2 separate regions of the Homo sapiens genome follow, and region 2 is linked to region 1. The links are contacts of gene promoters, found by promoter capture Hi-C in blood cells and fetal thymus (Javierre and others, 2016). All regions are on one chromosome and are shown on one strand. The core of a region is centred on a gene start or on the middle of the fragment in contact, and the rest is flanking DNA. Distances in the headings are between cores, read along the strand shown. Region 1 holds the start of MAP2K4 (mitogen-activated protein kinase kinase 4). Region 2 overlaps ELAC2 (elaC ribonuclease Z 2).

What was found. Contacts are between HindIII fragments. The CHiCAGO score rates a contact against its expected background, and 5 or more counts as called.
Region 2: a contact is called between a fragment that was not itself captured here and the fragment with the promoter of MAP2K4 in region 1, in 1 of 17 cell types (M0 macrophages). The highest score is 8.2, in M0 macrophages.

Annotation. Positions count from the first base shown.
Region 1 is chr17:12,019,267-12,022,377 of GRCh38, reverse strand. It overlaps MAP2K4 (mitogen-activated protein kinase kinase 4), which reads right to left and starts at 1,501. Exons shown (of 11, transcript NM_003010.4): 1 at 1,377-1,501. The coding sequence starts at 1,491. It also overlaps a transcript of ZNF18 not described here. RefSeq lists a silencer at 785-1,664 and an enhancer at 1,201-1,701. The HindIII fragment of the contact is 6,257 bases long and covers 1-3,111 here.
Region 2 is chr17:12,995,241-12,998,351 of GRCh38, reverse strand. It overlaps ELAC2 (elaC ribonuclease Z 2), which reads left to right. Exons shown (of 24, transcript NM_018127.7): 17 at 1,667-1,805; 18 at 2,374-2,412; 19 at 2,540-2,649. Among named protein-coding and RNA genes, the nearest start is that of ELAC2, 21 kb to the left of the region's middle. The HindIII fragment of the contact is 1,671 bases long and covers 415-2,085 here.

The sequences.
Region 1 (3,111 bases), core at 252-2,751:
CATCCAATAACTAATTCAATTTGAATGAATTATCTGAGGGCCTGCACAGAAAGTGTCCTCTAAGCTCTGACATCATCCTGTCTATATATCTATCACTGGTTTTTATGTATATTAAAATTATTTCATGGGGAGGGTGACAGGGATGTAAAGATAAATAAAATCCTGTCTCTTCTTTCTGAATTATGGCATGCTCTATAAACATGAACTATTCAATAAATGTCTGTTGAACCTAACTAAATGCTAGAAGCCCTTTAAGAGGAATGGAATCAAAAAGTAACCATGGTCACACTGACTACCAAGGGTACCCCAACCCTTATTCTGTTAATAATTCAACACAAGCAGTTTGCTAAAGTTGTCAAGAGAGTTCTGAGATTCCCTGTTTTAAAAATAGCATTACTACTCAAAATTCCCCAGTAAATTTAAGGAAATGGTCCCTAACAGGCTCGGGCCTGGCCTGGTATTTTCACAACACCCCCTGTCAAAAGCCATACACAGCTAATAAGCATTCCCAGTGGGGAAAGTCATTAATTAGCAGAGCTGCCTCAAATGTCCAGACACTACAGTATCACTTTGACCCCTGTCTATTTCCTGTATCTCTCCATTTAAACCAAATTAAGTCTTCTTTTTTTTTTTTTTTTTTTTTCTTCCTGCACGCAATGCTAACACAGAAATCCCTGGCCTGGAACAAAATGCCTCTCCCAGGCCAATGCAGCCTACCTACCTTACAGGTGGCACAGGCCTGGGCAACCCGCCCCCCACCCCCATCCCTTCCAGCGCACAGAAACCCTGCAAAAGTTTGAAAACGCAGGTTCCAAGAGGCCCCCGTAGCCCGAGGTCAGCTCGGTGGTCCGGCTCCAGCTGTGCCCGGCGACAGCCAAGATGGCCCTGAGCGGGGCCCACTGCGGCGGCGGGGCCGAGGGGCGCCGGCCGGGGCCGCTGTCTTCGCCGCCTACCTGAGCGGCGTCAGGGACCAGGGGGCAGGCCCGACGCCCCTCCCGCTCCGCCGCAGCCCCGAGCCGGCGCGTTCCCGGAAACGGGGGCCGGGCGGGCGCCAGGTAAGCGGCGGGGGCGATGGGGACGGCCGCGGGGGCGGTCCCGGACCAGGTGGGCCCTGCGGGCCTGCTGAGAGCCCGGTAGGGCCCAGGGGCCAAGCGCAGGCAGAGGCCGCGGCCGGGGCCTATGCGGGCCGGAGCCCGGATCCAAGCCGGGCCGGAGGCGGCCGGGAGCGGGGCGGGAAGCCGGGGAGGGAGAGAGGGAGAAGCCGGCGGCTGCCGTGGCTTCCTCAGCCGGGTCCGGGGGCGTCCGCTGGGGCAGGCCGCGACGACGCGGGTTGCCGCGCTAGGGGGCTGGGATCTCGGCGCGGCCGCGTTCCTTACCCTGCATGCTGCTGACGGCCGGGTGGCCTGGCGCCGGGGACCCTACGGGGCCGGGGGTGCCGCTGCCGCTGCCGCCCCCGGAGCCGCCGCCGCCGCTCGGGCTCGGAGCCGCCATTGTTGGGAGTGAAGAGCCGAGCGGCGCCGCGGCGGCTGCAATGCAGCAAGCTCGGCCTCTCGCACGGCCGAGGGGCGAGGCTTACCCCCGCCTTGGCCCCGCCTCCGACACGCCCCGGACACGCCTCCTGACACGCCCCCGCCAGAGCCCGACGCGCAGCCCGGGCCAGATGCTGAGCTGCAGAACCGCCCGGCTCTGGGTGCGCGACCTGTGAAGCAGACAGCTGTCTTGGACCAGGGCTGCGGGCCCGCGGGGCCTAAAGTGGTTTGCAGAATTAAAGGTGGGCCTGCATTTGTGCGGAAAGAAGGTACGCAGCTTTCATCATTCCCATGGAGGTCTGTGACTCCCAAAAGTCCACTTTGTTGGAATCTCAGAACCCCAAATCAGAATAGTAAAGCTGAAAAGGATCCCAGGGATCCCTTTCTCCTCCAGTCGCTAACACATCACTTCCAGAAGGGAGTTACCTAGAGCTATGGTTACAGTCTGGAACTCCTCTTAAGCCCAATACCCCAACCCTCTACACTTCTCTGAGGGGAAAGGGGAGTCCCAAGGGGAACTAACCAAAGTGCTGTCCATGGACCCATCCCAAAACTACTGAATTAGAGGTTACATTTTAATAATACCACCAGGTAATTTGTATGCCCATTAAATTTGAGAAGCATATATTTAAGCACTCGACACTTCCCAGCCTCCTGAAATATGCTATCTACATCACCATCTTCCCCTAAATGCACACTGGATTCCCTCTCCCAAATCCTTTACATCTTGTATAAGACGAGCCGTAGTCATTATTGTAAGTTACATAAAATGACAACCCCAAAAAACAATATGAGGTTTCTTCCATTGCTTTGCACAGAGACTTTTATTTTAGGAAGACAGTAGCTAAAAGAAGAAAAAGTTCTCTATGAGGCTACGATTTGTAAGCCAACCATAATGTACTCGAAATGGTAAGACATGGGTTTCTGGCCAGGCAGCCTTGCCTAAAATGGAATAGCCAGTTATCCTACTTCCCAAAGAATCTAAGCCATGGAGCTGGACATTTTCTCCCATTTAGAAGCATTGTGTGATCTACAGCTAGACTTCTTTCCCAAAACTTCTTCCACCCAGATGTTATTTGATGCTGAGAGTTCTTCACAGCATGTTGGAAATGTGTCCTGGGTCAAAATAGCCCTGCCTTCTTGTTCCAAACCCAATTTCATCCATCATCTTGATGGCTCAGATCCTAAAAGTGGCTAGCCGTAAACATCAAGTGGAGAGGCATTAAAGGCAAATTGAAGGTGAGAGCAGGTAGGTGTACTTCAGTGGAGAGCCCGCCAGAATTCTCCTCCATGGGCCTCGTTGGCTGCCCAATATCTTCAAGTCCAGGTCTTATAAACATGGCCAGATTCCCATCTGGAAATCAGTAGCCCACCCAGCTCTTGTTGCTCCTAGGGCATCTTAATTATGAGCCATCATAACTGGCCTTTAATAAGAATTTAATATATATTCTTTTAATAGAAATCCTAGAAGCAGCACTACAGATTAGGCAACTACTAGAAAATTAATTTAAACACACACACACACACACACACACACACACACACACACACACATCCAATATTATAAATAACATATATTAAA
Region 2 (3,111 bases), core at 1-2,500, 980 kb before region 1:
GTCCTGCTGTACTCACCAGTCGATTTGAAATGCGGTATCAAGCCCTGTCACTTGTCATGTCGACTGGAGTGTCCAGGAGAGGAGCGTGGCCTTACTGCATTTTATAGCCTCAGTAGCAAACTTTACCCTGGGAATCACCAAAATTCATCCCATGATGTCTTTTAATAAACAGCTGATTTTACTGTGGGCAGTACACCTAGCTAAGAAATTAGCTCCTTTAATTTTTACATTAATCCTATGAAGTGGTGAATAACTACCCATTTTGTTGATGAGTGACCTGATATTCAGAGAGGTGACTTGCTATGGTTCCTACAGCTGGTAAGTGGGGCATCTGAAGTTTGAGCGGGGACTTGGGGTCTTGATTGCTACATGGTATTGTCCCCCAGCCATTTGTTGGTAGTATGTTAAAAAGCTTTAGGGTTTTGCACATTTGTGTTCAGAACCTTTATTGGATTCCCCTTGACATGTTTTTTAGTTGATTCTCTTGGGTTTGCCTGGGGTCATCAGCAGAGAGATTAGTCAAATGCGTTGTGACATGTACACGTTATCTCTACAGATAGTATGTGAAGAAAATAAGATTGTGAATTACCAGGTTTGTTTTAAATTTTGCTCTGCCATCTTACATGCTAGTGGTGGATGATAAACAACCAAATAGTGCATTAAATATATACAGCAGTGACGAGATGTGCCCTGACATCAGAAATATACAATCTGGGGTGTGTTTCTCTGTGGATGAGGACATGCAATAAAGCAGCTTGGAGTGAGCCGGCCTCTCCCGGGGGCTGAGATCCTGGGGGAAGAAGGGCTTTTTGAGTTTGACCTGACACCCTGCGAGCAGCTTTTGAACCAGCTGAAGCTAATGGGAAGGTGCTATTGCCACCTTGCCTCCGCCTCCCGACTCCTTTTTCCCCCAGAAGGTAATGTCTTAGCACCGGGGCTTCTCTCTGCAAAATGGGTGCAGCCCTCTCAGTGTTCGTGGCTCCTCCCAGAGAATGAAGGAGGCCAGAGCGGGTCAGCACTCTCTCTGCCTTGGAGCAGAGCTTCTGAAATGGACTGCACAGCAGAATAGCCCAAGAAGTTTGTCAGAATCCAGACTTCCAGAGCCCTGCCTAAAACCAAGTCAGAAACCCCGAGTGACACCTGGGAGTCTGCGTTAACTGGCTCCCTGAATGAAGCACCTGCAGCCCGCCCTGCACCAGGTGTCTTTGAGGACATGAGCTGAGGAAACCCCGACCACTTGCAAAGGGGGAAAAGTCCGATGGCAGCTGGACCTAGAAAGAGTCTCATATGGCCCAGTGCCTGTCCTGGTATTTTCAACAGAGGCTGTGGCCACAGTCAATCTGCATGGTCAGATTCATTGTTAGGACTAAATGCTTTAAGCCTCCTATAAACTTTTTTTTTTTTTTTTTGATGCCCAGCCTTTGTGTAAGTCTACTTGAAAGGGTTTCAGGGTTCCATGGATACTTCTTTGCTATAAAGAGGATGACACATGTAAAATCACCTTTATGGTTAAATTAATTGGCTTTTATATTAGCTCCTCAAAGCAAAGCAGGAGAGACAGAAATTTCTGCAGTTGCTTCTTGGTCCTGTCCAAAGCAGACATCAGCCTCTGAACCATCAGCAGTCTTCCTAGTGGCAGTGACTCTCTTCCTCTTCTCTTCTGCAGCCCCGACACGTCTCTGCTACTGGACTGTGGTGAGGGCACATTTGGGCAGCTGTGCCGTCATTACGGAGACCAGGTGGACAGGGTCCTGGGCACCCTGGCTGCTGTGTTTGTGTCCCACCTGCACGCAGATCACCACACGGTGAGTGTTGGGCTGGACCACAAAGCTGGAGCCTGGAGGAGGCACTGCCACGTTGAGTTGGCCCTTTGGCTGCGTCTTTTCCTCCGCTTCCAAACTTGCCCAGAGCTTTTGTTACTCATCTCTGGCTAGGAAATGGTTTTTTGCAAAACTCAACATAGTCCTTCTGCGCCACAAGAATGTCTTCTCTTCCTGTTCAGTTCCTTTCCTGCAGCAGGACAGGTTTGAGTTTACCCAGCCTTCCTTGAGTCTTGAATCTCACACGGCCTGCTCAGCGGAAGCTTTGACCGGATGCAGGAGGTGTGGCTATGAGACCCTCACCTTGGTCTCCTGGGGTGCCGGGCCCTGGGCCGTTGCCCTCTTCCCAGCACGGGTCGTGTCGCTTTCTGCCTGTGACATTTCAGGGCCATGGCGCAGGGGGCTCGGCCTGTGCCACCCCCACTGCGGCTGTGTTAGAGGCTGGTGGGTGACGTCGGGCTGGCAACTCCTGCAAGAGAGAGGGCTGCAGACCCTAACCCGGAGGGGATGGCCCTGGGGCCTGGCTGACGCATGTCTCCTGTTTCCTTGCCAGGGCTTGCCAAGTATCTTGCTGCAGAGAGAACGCGCCTTGGTAAGTGTGGCACTTGATGGGCGTTCTGAGTTTCAGCGGTTTACACATCATCCGCCATGCCTCTTGGCACTCCAGTTTTTATTGAGATGTTCTGTCGTCGAGTCGGCACTTGCATTTTTTGTTCCAGGCATCTTTGGGAAAGCCGCTTCACCCTTTGCTGGTGGTTGCCCCCAACCAGCTCAAAGCCTGGCTCCAGCAGTACCACAACCAGTGCCAGGAGGTCCTGCACCACATCAGGTGAGCATCCAGGGCAGCCTGGCCCGCTGGGCTGTTGCTTGCTGCCGTCTCCTTCAGAAGCTCAAGGTGGACACTGGGGTAGTTACCAATATCCCCCAGCAGCCTTGCCCTTGACATGGTCCCAGATGGCAGAAGCAGGGGAGAAGTGCATTGGCTGAAGGACAGAAACCATTAGATAGTTCCCATGTAATGCTTATTTTCTTAGAAGCATTTCTTCCCAGTCCTCATTTGAGTTCTGAGCTGCTTTCTAAACTTCGAGCAGCTTTTCTTGATGAGACAGTTCCAGAGCCAAGCACCCAAATAGTGGCTAGCACAGAGAATGTCCATAGCAGGTGTGTGGCTAGCTGGCAGGTGGCACCATCCTCACCCCAAGGGGAAGGAGTCCCCTCTGCTGGAGCCATCCGTGGCCCGTGCTGCCTGAGCCGGAGGCAGCATTCACCTGCTGGGTTTCTCCCAGTGGCC